4 separate regions of the Homo sapiens genome follow, and all the other regions are linked to region 3. The links are contacts of gene promoters, found by promoter capture Hi-C in blood cells and fetal thymus (Javierre and others, 2016). All regions are on one chromosome and are shown on one strand. The core of a region is centred on a gene start or on the middle of the fragment in contact, and the rest is flanking DNA. Distances in the headings are between cores, read along the strand shown.

Region 1 (3,314 bases), core at 725-3,224, 150 kb before region 3:
TCCGCTGAGTCAGGGCTGAGCCTGGACAGGCCGGGGGCGGTGAGTGCTCAAGCAAGGGTGAAGGCTTCTCCAGGGGGCTGGGGGCCCCCTCAGACTCACAGCAGGGTTGGGAAGCGCCACTGCCAGCTGTACAGGTTCCAATTCCCACAACCGGGGCTGGACGGGAGACTGGGAGATGATTTAAGCCCCTCCTGAGAAAAAGTGGACAGCATCCTGCCTCCCACGCCACACCCTGAAGCCAGCCTCTCGGCCGAGGTCCTCAGGAGGCACATGCGTCTTGCCTGGTCTCCACTGCAGGAGTCTCACACCTGCTTCCAGTCTGGGTGCCAGAGTTAACCAACTAAGCACAACCCTGGCCACGTCCTGCCCTGTTCGAAAACCTTAAATGACTCCTCATCGCTTAAGGAGAAGGGCTAACAAATATTTCCCTGGCTACGCACGTGGCCATGACCGTCCACCCAGCACTCCTCCCTGCTAGAGCCTTCTCAGCCCAGCACTCCAAACAGCGACTGCCGACCCCTTCGAAGTGGCACACAGGTCACCCCATCATCCTGGACACCTGGCTAAAGGTGGGAGACTGACTACCCCAGTTTATTTTTTCCCCTTCCAGAGACCCAGCTAGAAGGACAACAGCAAGTAACTTTAAACAATATGCAGCACCACAAAGATAAAGAAAACAAAGAGACCAGCTGACAAGAGAGCTGGGCAAGCTTTGGAGACTCAAAGCTGATTAGGACCACACTGGATTCCACGGGGTAGAGAAAGCAAAAAGAGTCACAACCTACCAATATCTTCAGGGGTGACAGATAAGAAGCTGAGCTGCGTGGCTCGGAGCTGGAGGGAACAGGATTTGTCCCCAGGAACTGACAAAAAGTCTGTACACTGGACAGTCCAGCCCCCAGGCCCACCCCTCCCATGCATCGGTAGAAGATCAAAGGGTCAGCCGGGTATGGTGGCTCCTGCCCGTAATCCCATTACTTTGGGAGGCTGAGGCAGGAGAATGGCTTAAGCCCAGGAGTTTAAAACCAGTCTGGGCAACATAGCAAGACCCTGTCTCTATGAAATTAAAAATTAAAAAACACACCAACAAACAAAAAAACTTTTTAAAGAGGACCAAAGGGTGACCATCTTCAGAAATTAAACAGGAGGGCAACAGGTCTCAGGGACACAGGGCTTATTCAAAAGAGAGGGAAGAGGGGGAGTAAGAACAGGAGAGTTAAGTGAAAGCCAGCATCAGAAATGGTCAGGGCCCCTACCCCCGACCCTTTATCCCACTACCAGAACACTTGTGACCAAGTATGTCCCTTCCAGGGAAATTAGATGAATCGTCTCTGGAGAAACTAAATCACCTCAGGGGGAAAAAAAAGTCCAGTAAACACACATATTTATTGATTTCCCCAATAAAACAGCTAGCTCCCCAAGCCCAATCACCCTAAAGCGAAACCCACCAGGTGACAAGTCCTACCTTGCACGAAGAGCTCCCAGTCACTACTAAATATAACCAGAACAAATAACAAAAGGAAAACTTGATAAACTGGACATCATCAACACTAGAAACGTTTGTGCATCAAAGGACACTACTAGGAATGTGAAAAGGGGCCAGGCACAGTGGCTCACACCTGTAATCCCAGCACTTTGGAAGGCTGAGGCAGGAGGATCACTTGAGGCCAGGAGTTCAAGACCAGCCTGGGCAACATAGTGACACCCTCTATAAAAAATTTAAATAAAAATAAAAACTTGGGCCGGGCGCGGTGGCTCACGCCTGTAATCCCAGCACTTTGGGAGGCCGAGGCTGGTGGATCACGAGGTCAGGAGATCGAGACCATCCTGGCTAACACAGTGAAACCCCGTCTCTACTAAAAATACAAAAAAATTAGCTGGGCGTGGTGGCGGGCGCCTGAAGTCCCAGCTACCTGGGAGGCTGAGGCACAAGAATGGCGTGAACCCGGGAGGCGGAGCTTGCAGTGAGCCGAGATCATGCCACTGCACTCCGGCCTGGGTGACAGAGTGAGACTTCATCTCAAAAAAAAAAAAAAAAAAAAAATTGGCCAGGCGTAGTAGTGCATGCCTCTAGTCCCAGCTACTCAAGAAGTTGAGGCGGGAGGATCACTTGAGCCCAAGTTCAAGGTTGCAGTGAGCAATAATCATGCCAGTGCACTCCAGCCTGGAAGACACAGCAAGACCCTGTCTCTGAAGAAAAAAAGAAAAAAGAATGTGAAAAGACATTCAACAGAATGGGAAATAATAATTACAAATCATATAACTGATAAGGAACTTTCATCCAGAACTAAGAACTCATAATTCAATAATAAAAAATAACCCAATTTATTATAAAAATGGGCAATGGGGTTGGGGACAGCGGCTCACACGTGTAATCCCAGCACTTTGGGAGGTTGAGGCAGGCGAATCGCTTGAGCTCAGGAGTTCAAGACCAGCCTGGACAACATGGTAAAACCCCGCCTTTACCAAAAATACAAAAATGAGCTGGGCATGGTGGTGCGTGCCTGTAATTCCAGCTACTCAGAAGGCTGAGGTACGAGAATCAGTTGAACCTGGGAGGCAGAGGTTGCAGTGAGCCAAAATTACGCCGCTGTACTCCAGCCTAGGTGACAGAGAAAGACTGTCTCAAAAAAAAAAGGGCAATGGACCTAAATTTCTGAATTGGCATTTCTACAAAGAAGATATACGAATGGCCAGTAAGCACATGAAAAGATGCTTACCATCATCAGTCATCAGGGAAATGCAGATAAAAACCACAATGAGATACCACTTCACATTTGCTAGGATGGCTACAATCAGAGAATATCAAGTGTTGGTGAGGATGTGGAGAAAATAGGATCCTCATACCCTCATACCCTGCAGGTGGGAACAGAAAACGGTGCAGCCACTTCGGAAGACTCTTGGGAGTGCCTCAGAAAGTGAAAGAGAGTTGCCATATGACCCAGTAATTCCAGACATAAGCATATGGAAATGAAAATGAACGTCCACACAAACACTGGTACGTAATGTTCACAGTAGCACTACTCCTAACAGCCAAGAGGAGACAACCCAAATGCCCATGAACTGATGAATGGATAAACAATGTGGACTCTCCGTACATTTGGCCATAAAAAGGAACGTACGTGCTACAACATGGTTGAACCTTGAAAACACTATGCCAAGTTCAAGAAGCCAGTCACAAAAGACCACATCCTCCACAAACCCTTTTATACAAAATGTCCAGAATAGGCAAAGCTTCAAAGACAGAAAGTAGATTATTGCACAGGGCTGGGGGGTAGGAGTGGGGAGTGACAGCTAAAGGGAACAGGGCTTAT
Region 2 (3,282 bases), core at 699-3,198, 180 kb before region 3:
GAAATTGTGTGACTGTCAATAAATGACCAGAGGATGATGGTTGATAAGACACACAAGGAGTATAAAAGTGAAGATGGCACATTTGAAGCCCTTGCCAGGGTGTCTGGGATCTAAGTAGGTATACATCCATTTATGACATTAAAAAGTTCATTAATGTTTTAATTGGAATACACATATGGGGGGAAGGAGGTAGAAAAAAATATATATATATAGTTGTTTTTATAAAAGAAGAATAAGCTGGAAGTTTAAAAGGGGAGAAAAAAATGAAAACCTTTTATAACAGGGTGTATTTTTTTAAAGGACTTAGAGTTGGAGTTGAATTGGACACATCAGCACGAACTCATTTCCCAGCTCCCACTGGAGTGCACTAGAAGCAGACGCCTGCCTTTAGTTCTCACACGGATAATGTGATTCGCACCATGAGCGCCCAGACATAACATTCAACTGATAACATTTGCCACTCAAAGAAACAGGGCTCCTTGGGGAATAGCTGATTCCATACCTTGGTGCAAGAAAAATCAGAGTTGGCCTGAGCAGACTTTGCTAGAAGTATGTAAGTTAAAAAACAAAAATGTTTAAGGTAGTGTTAAAAGGAAAAAGGACGCAGCATAAAAAGTCAAAGCTGGGCCGGGTGCGGTGGCTCACACCTGTAATCCCAGCACTTTTGGGAGGCCAAGGCGGGCGGATCACGAGGTCAGGAGATCGAAACCATCCTGGCTAACACGGTGAAACCCCATCTCTACTAAAAGTACAAAAAAATTAGCCGGGTGTGGTGGCGGGCGCCTGTAGTCCCAGCTACTCGGGAGGCTGAGGCAGGAGAATGGCGTGAACCCAGGAGGCAGAGCTTGCAGTGAGCCGAGATGGCGCCACTGCACTCCAGCCTGGGCGACAGTGCAAGACTCCGTCTCAAAAAAAAAAAAAAAAAAAGAAAGAAAAAAAGTCAAAGCCAGCCAGGCACGGTGGCTCATGCCTGTGATCCCCACTCTTTGGGAGGCTGAGGCAGGAGAGTCACTGGAGGCCAGGAATTCAAGACCAGCCTGGACAACATAACGAGACCCCACATCTACAAAAAATAAAAAAATTAGCTGGGTGTGGTGGCGCGTACCTGTAGTCCCAGCTACTTGGGAAGCCGAAGTGGAAGGATCCCTTGAGCCCAGGTGTTCAAGGCTGCAGTGACATTGTCTCTAAAAAGAAAAGAAAAGAAAGGAAAAAAAGGCAAAACTGTGATCATCTGATTATCAAAAAGAAAACAAAAATGTAGTGAAAAGCTTGAGTCCATAATGGTACTGGATATGGGTTATACTAAAAGTATATGTGAGCTCCTGAAAATGTCAACTGGTTTTTGGTTGTTTTTGTTTTGCCAAAGCCAATTGTTCTGAAGTGTCCACTTTTAAAACACTGTGCATACCATAGCCAAGTTTTGATTCATAATTAAGCTATGAATTTCTTGTACTTTTTTTTTTTTCTTTTGAGACAGAGTCTGGCTCTGTCGCCCAAGTTGGAGTGCAGTGGCGCGATCTCGGCTCACTGCAAGCTCCGCCTCCCAGGTTCACGCCATTCTCCTGCCTCAGCCTCCCGAGTAGCTGGGACTACAGGCGCCCGCCACCACGCCCGGATAATTTTTTGTATTTTTAGTAGAGACGGGGTTTCACCGTGTTAGCCAGGATGGTCTCGATCTCCTGACCTCGTGATCCGCCCGCCTTGGCCTCCCAAAGTGCTGGGATTACAGGCGTGAGCCACCGCTCCCAGCCCGAATTTCTTGTACTTATGTATTTATATCAGGTAATGAGATTTAAAGGACACTCAGGGATGAAAGATGCACTGAGTTATTTAAAAACAAAAAACAAAACAAAACAAAACAGTGAGAGTTCTATGAATCTTGTTAATTCGGCAGGAAAAACTTGACCAAAGGAAGCCACCCACACTGATAATTGCCAGCCTGGGAGAAATGACTGTAGAAGGCACATCCAGGCCCCACTCCCAGACCCAGTGCCCAGGCTCCAAGCATCTCTCCATACTGGAACAGCACGGCAGCTCCAAATCTGGAACTCATACCCCGATCTGTAACCGTACCTCAGACCTACATCTTCAACTGATTTCAGCCCAACTGTGAGGCTAATTCTGCTTTCTTTCTTTGGATAGAGGCTTAAAAATAAATATAAAGAAGATGATGGACACGAACGTACATTAATACTCTTGTAATACCTTTAAGGAGTAACTACTTTAATAGCTTTAGGTAATAACTACTGCAAACACTGGGATGATTTGGGTTTTATCTGCTTTTAGTTGAGGTAAAATTCACGTAACAAAATTAACCACTAATGACTTTAAAGTATAGAATTTTAAAATCTGCTTTTTAAAGTGTTGGAAAAGTGTAAAAGCATGTGACATTAAACTTGTGATATTAGTTTAGTATTTAGGTAGATTAAGTTTGGTGGTTAAATGCTTAAATAAATCTAATTGGGTCTATAAATTGAGGCTATGTTTTGTGAATAGTGTTTAAATTATTAGTGCTACATGCTTAGTGTCTAAGATTTTGTTAGATTTGTATATCTGCCTTGTTAGATGTTTGAATATTAATATTAATATAGTTTAAACAGCCTAAGCTAATTTAATTAATCAAGCTTATAAGTAATATTTAATGTTTAGAGAATTTATAAGCTAATCAGGCATTAATCAAAGAACAAGTGATAGAAATACTAGATTTATGAGCAAAGTAACATAAAAATACTAGATTTATGAGCAAAGTAATAAATTGTATGAGTTGAACTTAACAAAACTAGTCTTGAAAATGTACAACTTTGGGTGCAGTGGCTCATGCTTGTGGTCCCACCATTTTGGGAGGCTGAGGCAGGAGCATCACATGGGACCAGGAGTTGAAGGCTGCAATGAGCCATGATTATACCACTGTGCTCCAGTTTGGGTGACAGAGCGAGACTCTGTCCCCCCAAAACAAAGTAAAACAAATAAAAATGAAAATAACAATAAAATGTACACCTTCAATAAACTGGAAACATAAGTAAAATACACAAATAAATTTGTTCCTCTCCACGCATAAAAGCTTCCCTCAGGCATTAAAAACTCAACTGACCATGACTTAGTAGCTTATAAACTAACACAAAAGTATAGAAAGAGATTTATTTGTTGAAATTTTGACAGTTAAAAATATTACAAGTCAAATTAAAAGGAAGCACCTCTTTCAAATTTAATTTTCTTTCATTCATTTTTATTGGTGTTTTGTTTGTAAAGAGAAAAGTCACTAATTTTTACAAACGGTGATGA
Region 3 (3,357 bases), core at 83-2,582:
AACTTCTCGGTATGGCTAAGGCTCTGCTTCCTCCGGCTCCAGCTTCAACTCACACCACACTCCATTCAGGTCGATTAGCTCAAACCCCTCAGATATTTCTCAGCCTTTGTACTCACTGTGCTTCCTCCTGCCATCCAGCCTTTGCACGCCTGATTCCCTCTGCTTAGAGGAGTTCCCTCCTTTCTTTGTAAAAGGCATCAGATCTCACACCAAGCTCTCATTACAAAAGCCTTTCCTGTCCTACCTCTCAAGATCTCGTTATTGTAAATACTCAAAGTATCATTAACCTCTAATGTTTCAATTTACAGCAATAATTCAACATTTGTTTGTTTTGGAGACGGTGTCTCCCTCTGTCGCCCAGGCTGGAGTGCAGTGGTGTGATCATGGCTTACCATAGCCTCCACCTCTCGGCCTCAGGTGATCCTTCCACCTCAGCCTCCAGAGTAGCTGGGACTACAGGCACGCACCACCACGCCCGGCTAATTTTTAGTAGAGAAGCGGTTTCGCTATGTTGCCAGGCTGGTCTCGAACTCGTGACCTCAAGTGATCCACCCGCCTCGGCCTCCTAAAGTGCTGGGATTACAGGCGTGAGCCACTATGCCCAGCCCACATTTGTTTATTTGATTAAAATGTCTGTGCCCCTCTTCCAGGATTGGGCTGTGAGCCCAGGGGAAGGAAAGAACCTTGTCTGCCATTGTATCTTCAGGGCCTAGCGGTGCCTGGCGCACAGCAGTTGCTCAACTAGACTGGTTGACTAAGTCAATAAATAAAGCACTACGGTCTATTATATCCGAAGGCTTGGCTTCGGGAGGGGCAAAAGACAGGTTTCGCGCTGAGGTAGGGTTCATGGTGCCGACATTTTTTTTCAAGATGGAAGAAAGCGGAGATAATACGCAGCCCTCAAAGGAACTTAGTCTAATCGGGGGGAGCAGACGATCGTTCACTGTGGGAAAATGGGGTACGATTTCCCCCAGTGAGGAAATCAACTAAAGCCGAGCTTTGAAAAGGGGAGCAGAGGAGCCTGAGGGGAAGCGGGGGCGTGTCGCCTGGCGTGACCAGCGCGGCAGGAAAAGCGGGCCCAGGGACCCGGGCCTGTCACGCCGCTTCCGCGCGTCCCCAAACTCTCCCTCGGCTCGCCCACCCACGCGGCGGGGACCCCTCCGGCCCCTCCCCGGCCCCACGGCCACTTCTTCCCCCACAAGCCGGCCTGCGGTCCGCCTTACCAGCCCGGGCCGGACGGGGCCGCAGCTCCTGGCAGACCGCACAGCCTTCGAGCCCGGAATGCCGAGACAAGGCCGGCGCCGATTGGCGACGTTCCGTCACGTGACCTTAACGCTCCGCCGGCGCCAATTTCAAACAGCGGAACAAACTGAAAGCTCCGGTGCCAGACCCCACCCCCGGCCCCGGCCCGGGACCCCCTCCCCTCCCGGGATCCCCCGGGGTTCCCACCCCGCCCGCACCGCCGGGGACCCGGCCGGTCCGGCGCGAGCCCCCGTCCGGGGCCCTGGCTCGGCCCCCAGGTTGGAGGAGCCCGGAGCCCGCCTTCGGAGCTACGGCCTAACGGCGGCGGCGACTGCAGTCTGGAGGTGAGCGGGATGCAGCAATGGAGTCCCAGGCCTGGCCTGGGCACAGGCGGGGAGCAAGGCCTCCGGGCGCGGAGGTCAGGGCGTCTAGCAGCAGGGCACGGGCCACGAGTGGAGATTTGGGTCACACGGGAAGAATCTGAGCCAGGGTGCAAGTTTTTTCTGCGTCCACCTCCTGGCCGTGGCCTTCTCACTGCTTAAAGCGCCCCTTGGCCTTCCCTGGAAGTCTGACCTCCGCACCCTGCCCGCGGCCTCGGGAGGGCTGGGGTGGCCTACCTTCTTAGGCCGACTGTGGCTGAGATGAAGACTGAGATTGTACTACATTGAGTCAAAGACCAACCTGCATACACACTCCCCTGCTCCCAGGCTGTCTCACCACTAGGCAACACCGCCTCCATCTTACTTACCCTTTTGCAGGGCCCTTTTCCTGGTTCTTGAGAATGTAGCAAGATTTCCCCGCTCAGGATGGGGATGGGTCGGAGGAGCCACTCTGGAAGTTTCCCGGGCAAGAAAGTGTTGGCAATAATAATAACGGGCTGGTCAGGAAGTAGAAGAGAAAATTAAGACTTAGATATCCTGTGGAAAAAGAGGAATAATATCTACTGATTGATGCGGGGAGAGAGGGAAGCCTGGAAAGATCGGAGGTGAAAGTAAAACTGAGATTTGAAGGTAGAGGTGTGGAGGGCCTGTGAACTCTATGCAGATGACAAATGTCAAAAAAGTGCAGTTGCTTTTCAGGGAGAGAATAAGTGTCCTAAAAAAGAGACAGCCAATTCCTCTGTCTTCCAAAGTTCCGTGAAATAGAATTACACAATTTTGCTTAATGGTAGAATATTCCATGTATCTATTAAAATCAACAAAAGGCCGGGCGCAGTGGCTCACGCCTGTAATCCCAGCACTTTGGGAGGCCGAGGCGGGTGGATCACCTGAGGAGTTCAAGACCAGCCTGGCAAACATGGTGAAACCCTGTTTCTACTAAAAAAAAAAAAAAAAAATTAGCTGGGCATGGTGGTGCATGCCTGTAATTGCAGCTACTCGGGAGGCTGAGGCAGGAGAATCGCTTGAACCCGGGAGGCCGAGGTTGCAGTGAGCTGAGATTGCGCCATTGCACTCCAGCCTGGGTGACAAGAGCGAAGCTCCGTCTCAAAAAAAAAAAAAAAATTAAAAAAAATCAACAAAAGACTTAAAAAAAAAAGACTACACTGTTAGCATTTCAGAACCACCTTAGTGTAATGATGATAGCTCATTGTGGTACTAAGAAGACAGGGGTTATAGTCTTATTTCTGGAAAAGAAATTAATAAAGTGGCATGCTTAGTTAAAATATATATAACCACATGCAAGTACTAAAATGCCACTGTATAAATACAATACAAATTGTAAAAGAAAACATGCTTTTTAAATTAGAGCAAGTATAATAGCCTGTGAAATAAATGTCACCCTCTAGAGTTGTTCAGTGCACAAGCTGCACAACTTTACATGGGCCTTCAGTAGAGGTTTCCATTTTATGTGAGGTTTTGTAAACTGGGAGATGATTTTTCCAGTAGTGTGGCAATAGTACAATCTGCCTTTCTTCCCTGATTCTGTGTGCACTGGTCCTATTTACAAAGTAATATAAAAATCAAAAGGCTTGGCCAGACGCGGTGGCTCACGCCTGTAATCCCAGCACTTTGGGAGGCCGAGGCGGGCAGATGACCTGAGGTCAGGAGTTTGAGACCAGCCTGAGCAACATGGTGAAACCCTGTCTCTACTAAAAATACAAAAACTAGCCGGGCG
Region 4 (3,141 bases), core at 191-2,690, 190 kb after region 3:
GACACACCCTGCATCGTGCCTGGCCACGCTTCACTGTGCTGCCGTTCCAGAGTGGGACAGTGGCTCCCAGCAGGTGGCACAGCCCCCCAGCATCCCAGGTTCTTGACATGCCTGCCCTCCAGCTCAGAAAATAATAGAGAAGTGGGAGCTTCTCTCTAAACCCCTGGAAAAGTGTCCATCCAAGGAGCAGGCACACCTGCCGCTGGCCTGCCTGTCCCTCCAGAGGGCCCATTTTCAAGTGGCTGCACGCAAGCCCATGGGACCCAGGCATTACCCCCTGGGGAAAACCCCATGCCTCAATTTCCCTTTCTACAAAATTGAAATGACATATGCCCTCTCTGTCTCAGAGGCCTGTTGTGAGTCATGTATACAGTAACAGATGAGACAGGGCTTTGAGGGTGAAAAGAGCCAGAAAAGCTTCGGAAACACTGTGTCTCAAACTTCTGTGGATGTCACTCTGTGTCTCAAACTTCTGTGGATGTGACTCAGAGTCATAAAGATGTTTCTCAAGGAGACCCCCAGATAGCCACATCTGTTGGCAATTAAGCAAGTGTTTCCCAGCACAGCGCTTACCTTTGTGACGTTTGACGCATTCTGATAGTTTCTGATATTGTGCTGTGCTGCACCTGCTTTTAAGGGCTAGTCATTAGTGACCAAATGGATGTCACCACCTTCTAAAGGATCTAGAACTGCAGCTAAAAATACTCTAAGAATGGCAGCAAGGACAAAAATCTCAGGCCTGGCTTTGCCACCAGTGCCCTCTTCTGGGCAGCTTCATTATAAGCAGTGTCTTGAAACACTTGTTTAATTATCTATATATGTATGTGCATACTGAGTCTCACCAGAAAATATATTTATGACTGTGTCTTACAGCCTACAATGTTTATAAAACAATGTTCAGAAATTTTCCTGGCGAGGAAACCCCAAGCTAAAAAGGGCATCGTGTATGTGTGTGTTGTGTGTGTCTGTGTGTGTGTGTGGTGTGTGTGTGTTTGTGTGTGTTGTGTGTTGGGGGGCTCCCATTTCACTGAGGAGATGAAAGAGGCGGTGCAGATGTTTTCTCTGTGATCTCCTCTCCTCCTGCAATCAGCCCCAGAGGAGGGATCTCAGGGACCTGCCTCTGCCTCCCCACATTTGTTCCCACACTTGGGTCAGCCTCAGCAGAGGGCAGCAGAGCTCACATCTCTGTGGAGAGCAGGCTGGGCTCACTGCAGGCCTCCGTGTCATGGTTCATCTTCACTTCATAGGTCTCATCCTGAGACGTCTCCTCCTGACCCGCCATGGCTGCCTGGCTCTCCCGGGAGTGGCACCTACAATATCCAAGATGAAGAAAAACATCAGAAACTGCCAACCTTCCTCCACTTCCTTCAGCAAGTAAAGCATCACACACGCACACACATGCAGGTGTACACACGTGCACAAACACAAGCACACACACGTGAACAGGCATACAGTTGCTGGTGCTTTGTTCTCCTGTGATTGCTGATGGATCCATAGAAGTGTTCAGATTAGGGTGAGGGTCCCATTTGGGAGAAGGATGTCTGCTGTGGATCCAGGAGTCCTGACCCCAATCCACTTACCCTCTGGTCCAAGTCACTTGGTCCACCTCATGCCTCAGTTTCCCTATGAAATTGGAATGACATATGCCCTGCCTAACTTAGAGGCTGCCCCCCACTCACCTCCAGCTATGACACCTGGGTCTTTGGCATTTGGCATAGCTGAGAAGTCCTTGGCCTCTTATTTTGATGGTGCCCTTGATTCTGACACTGGCACCCTGGGGTAAAGGCACAGAGAGGAAGCCTCACCTAGAGGGGTTTGCTCTCCTGAGCAGAAGGCAGTGAGCCTGAGTCCCTGCTGAGCCTGAATCCCTCCTGAGCTCCAGATCCTCACACATCGGAACGTGCCTTTCCCTGCTGGGACAGGGTCAGGTCATCTTTAGCTCTGGACCAAGGCCTCTTCCTTTTCCTGTCTGAGCTCAGCTCAGTGCCTCCCTTTGTCTTGCTTTCTATAGACCTTGCATGCTGGGCCCACTTTATCCTCAGACCCCTGAGGGCATCAGAGAAAGATCCTGGTCCATCCTCTCAGAGCCGAGTGCTAAATCAGTGCCCTGGCTCTGAGCATCCCAGGCAGGGTAGAAGCAATTCTCTCTCTCGAGGAGGAGGACTGCAGACTGCCACCCGCCCCGCAGTGGAAGGAAAGATGAGAGGTGGGAGCTCCAGGAGGACTGGGAGGGGAGGGAGGTGGAGTGGGCTTTGGTGAAGCACGGAGGGAGGAGCTGGAGACGCAGAGCAGCAGCAGGCAGGCAGCAGCACTTTTGGGGGCCACCGGGCACAGGACGTGCTGGCCCATCCTCAGCACAAGCAATGCTGGCACTAGAGCTGCCGTTAGCCTTGAGCTGTGACACGGGGACAAGGGAGCTGGGACGTGGGCTATGCTCCTCCTCTTCACCAAGCTGAAGCTTGATGCCCTGTGTGTTGTTTGTACCATCTGCAGTGGGCAGAGGGAACCGACATTTCATGAGCACCGACTGTGTGCTGGGCACTGTGCCGGGTGCTTTGCATGTATTTTGCTATGTGGAGAGATATATCTGTGGGGACAAGGAAATCCCCTGGGGTCTCCTCCCCCAGCTCCTCTAAACATCCCTCTCCCCTTATGTCACAGAGAACAAAGCTTCACATGAAAATGCCCTTAGAGGGTGGGGAATTAGTTCACCCTGAGATGCTAAAGACGGACGTGGAGCCCTCCTTAAGCAGAAGCTTCATGAGGCCAGAGGGGAGAAGGGGGTATGGGGACCCAGTACTTGGGTCCTCAAAGGCCGTGGAAGGGGAGTGAGGTTGCAGAGAAGGATGAGGCCCCCACAACAGGTGCAGGCCCCCAAGACTAGATGCCTAGATTAGATCCTCTCCTATGCAAAGCCAGCCCTTCAGGCCGGCACATAAAATCCAGTGCCCAGCACACTGCCCTGTGCACACAGAAGGCAGCAGTGCAGGCCTCATGAATTGAAGGATGCCCCCAGTGCTGCTTCTGGGTGGCTAAACCAGCCAACCTTGCAGAAAGGAAAGCAGACAGGGAGATGGTCCTTTTAACTGGCCTGTCGTCTGACACAATTAAATGCCTGAGTCCCATGGGCTTGCATGCAGC

The links. The method cuts DNA at HindIII sites, captures the fragments that hold promoters and counts their contacts. A CHiCAGO score of 5 or more calls a contact.
Region 1: a fragment that was not itself captured here is called in contact with the fragment with the promoter of FOXM1 in region 3 in 2 of 17 cell types (endothelial precursors and megakaryocytes); the score reaches 8.2 in endothelial precursors.
Region 2: a contact is called between a fragment that was not itself captured here and the fragment with the promoter of FOXM1 in region 3, in 2 of 17 cell types (endothelial precursors and megakaryocytes). The highest score is 9.8, in endothelial precursors.
Region 4: a contact is called between a fragment that was not itself captured here and the fragment with the promoter of FOXM1 in region 3, in 1 of 17 cell types (fetal thymus). The highest score is 5.0, in fetal thymus.

Annotation. Positions count from the first base shown.
Region 1 is chr12:3,027,964-3,031,277 of GRCh38, reverse strand. All of the region lies in intron 10 of TEAD4 (TEA domain transcription factor 4), which reads right to left. Among named protein-coding and RNA genes, the nearest start is that of TSPAN9, 48 kb to the left of the region's middle. The HindIII fragment of the contact is 2,524 bases long and covers 713-3,236 here.
Region 2 is chr12:3,056,879-3,060,160 of GRCh38, reverse strand. No RefSeq gene overlaps it. Among named protein-coding and RNA genes, the nearest start is that of TSPAN9, 19 kb to the left of the region's middle. The HindIII fragment of the contact is 1,356 bases long and covers 1,271-2,626 here.
Region 3 is chr12:2,875,149-2,878,505 of GRCh38, reverse strand. It overlaps FOXM1 (forkhead box M1), which reads left to right and starts at 1,332. Exons shown (of 9, transcript NM_021953.4): 1 at 1,332-1,586. RHNO1 (RAD9-HUS1-RAD1 interacting nuclear orphan 1) reads right to left here and starts at 1,283. Exons shown (of 3, transcript NM_001252499.3): 1 at 1,224-1,283. RefSeq lists silencers at 1,027-1,466, 1,507-1,576. The HindIII fragment of the contact is 3,757 bases long and covers 1-3,357 here.
Region 4 is chr12:2,680,719-2,683,859 of GRCh38, reverse strand. CACNA1C (calcium voltage-gated channel subunit alpha1 C) reads right to left here. Exons shown (of 47, transcript NM_000719.7): 43 at 1,182-1,310. All of the region lies in intron 3 of CACNA1C-AS1 (CACNA1C antisense RNA 1), which reads left to right. Among named protein-coding and RNA genes, the nearest start is that of CACNA1C-AS1, 8.9 kb to the left of the region's middle. The HindIII fragment of the contact is 2,041 bases long and covers 420-2,460 here.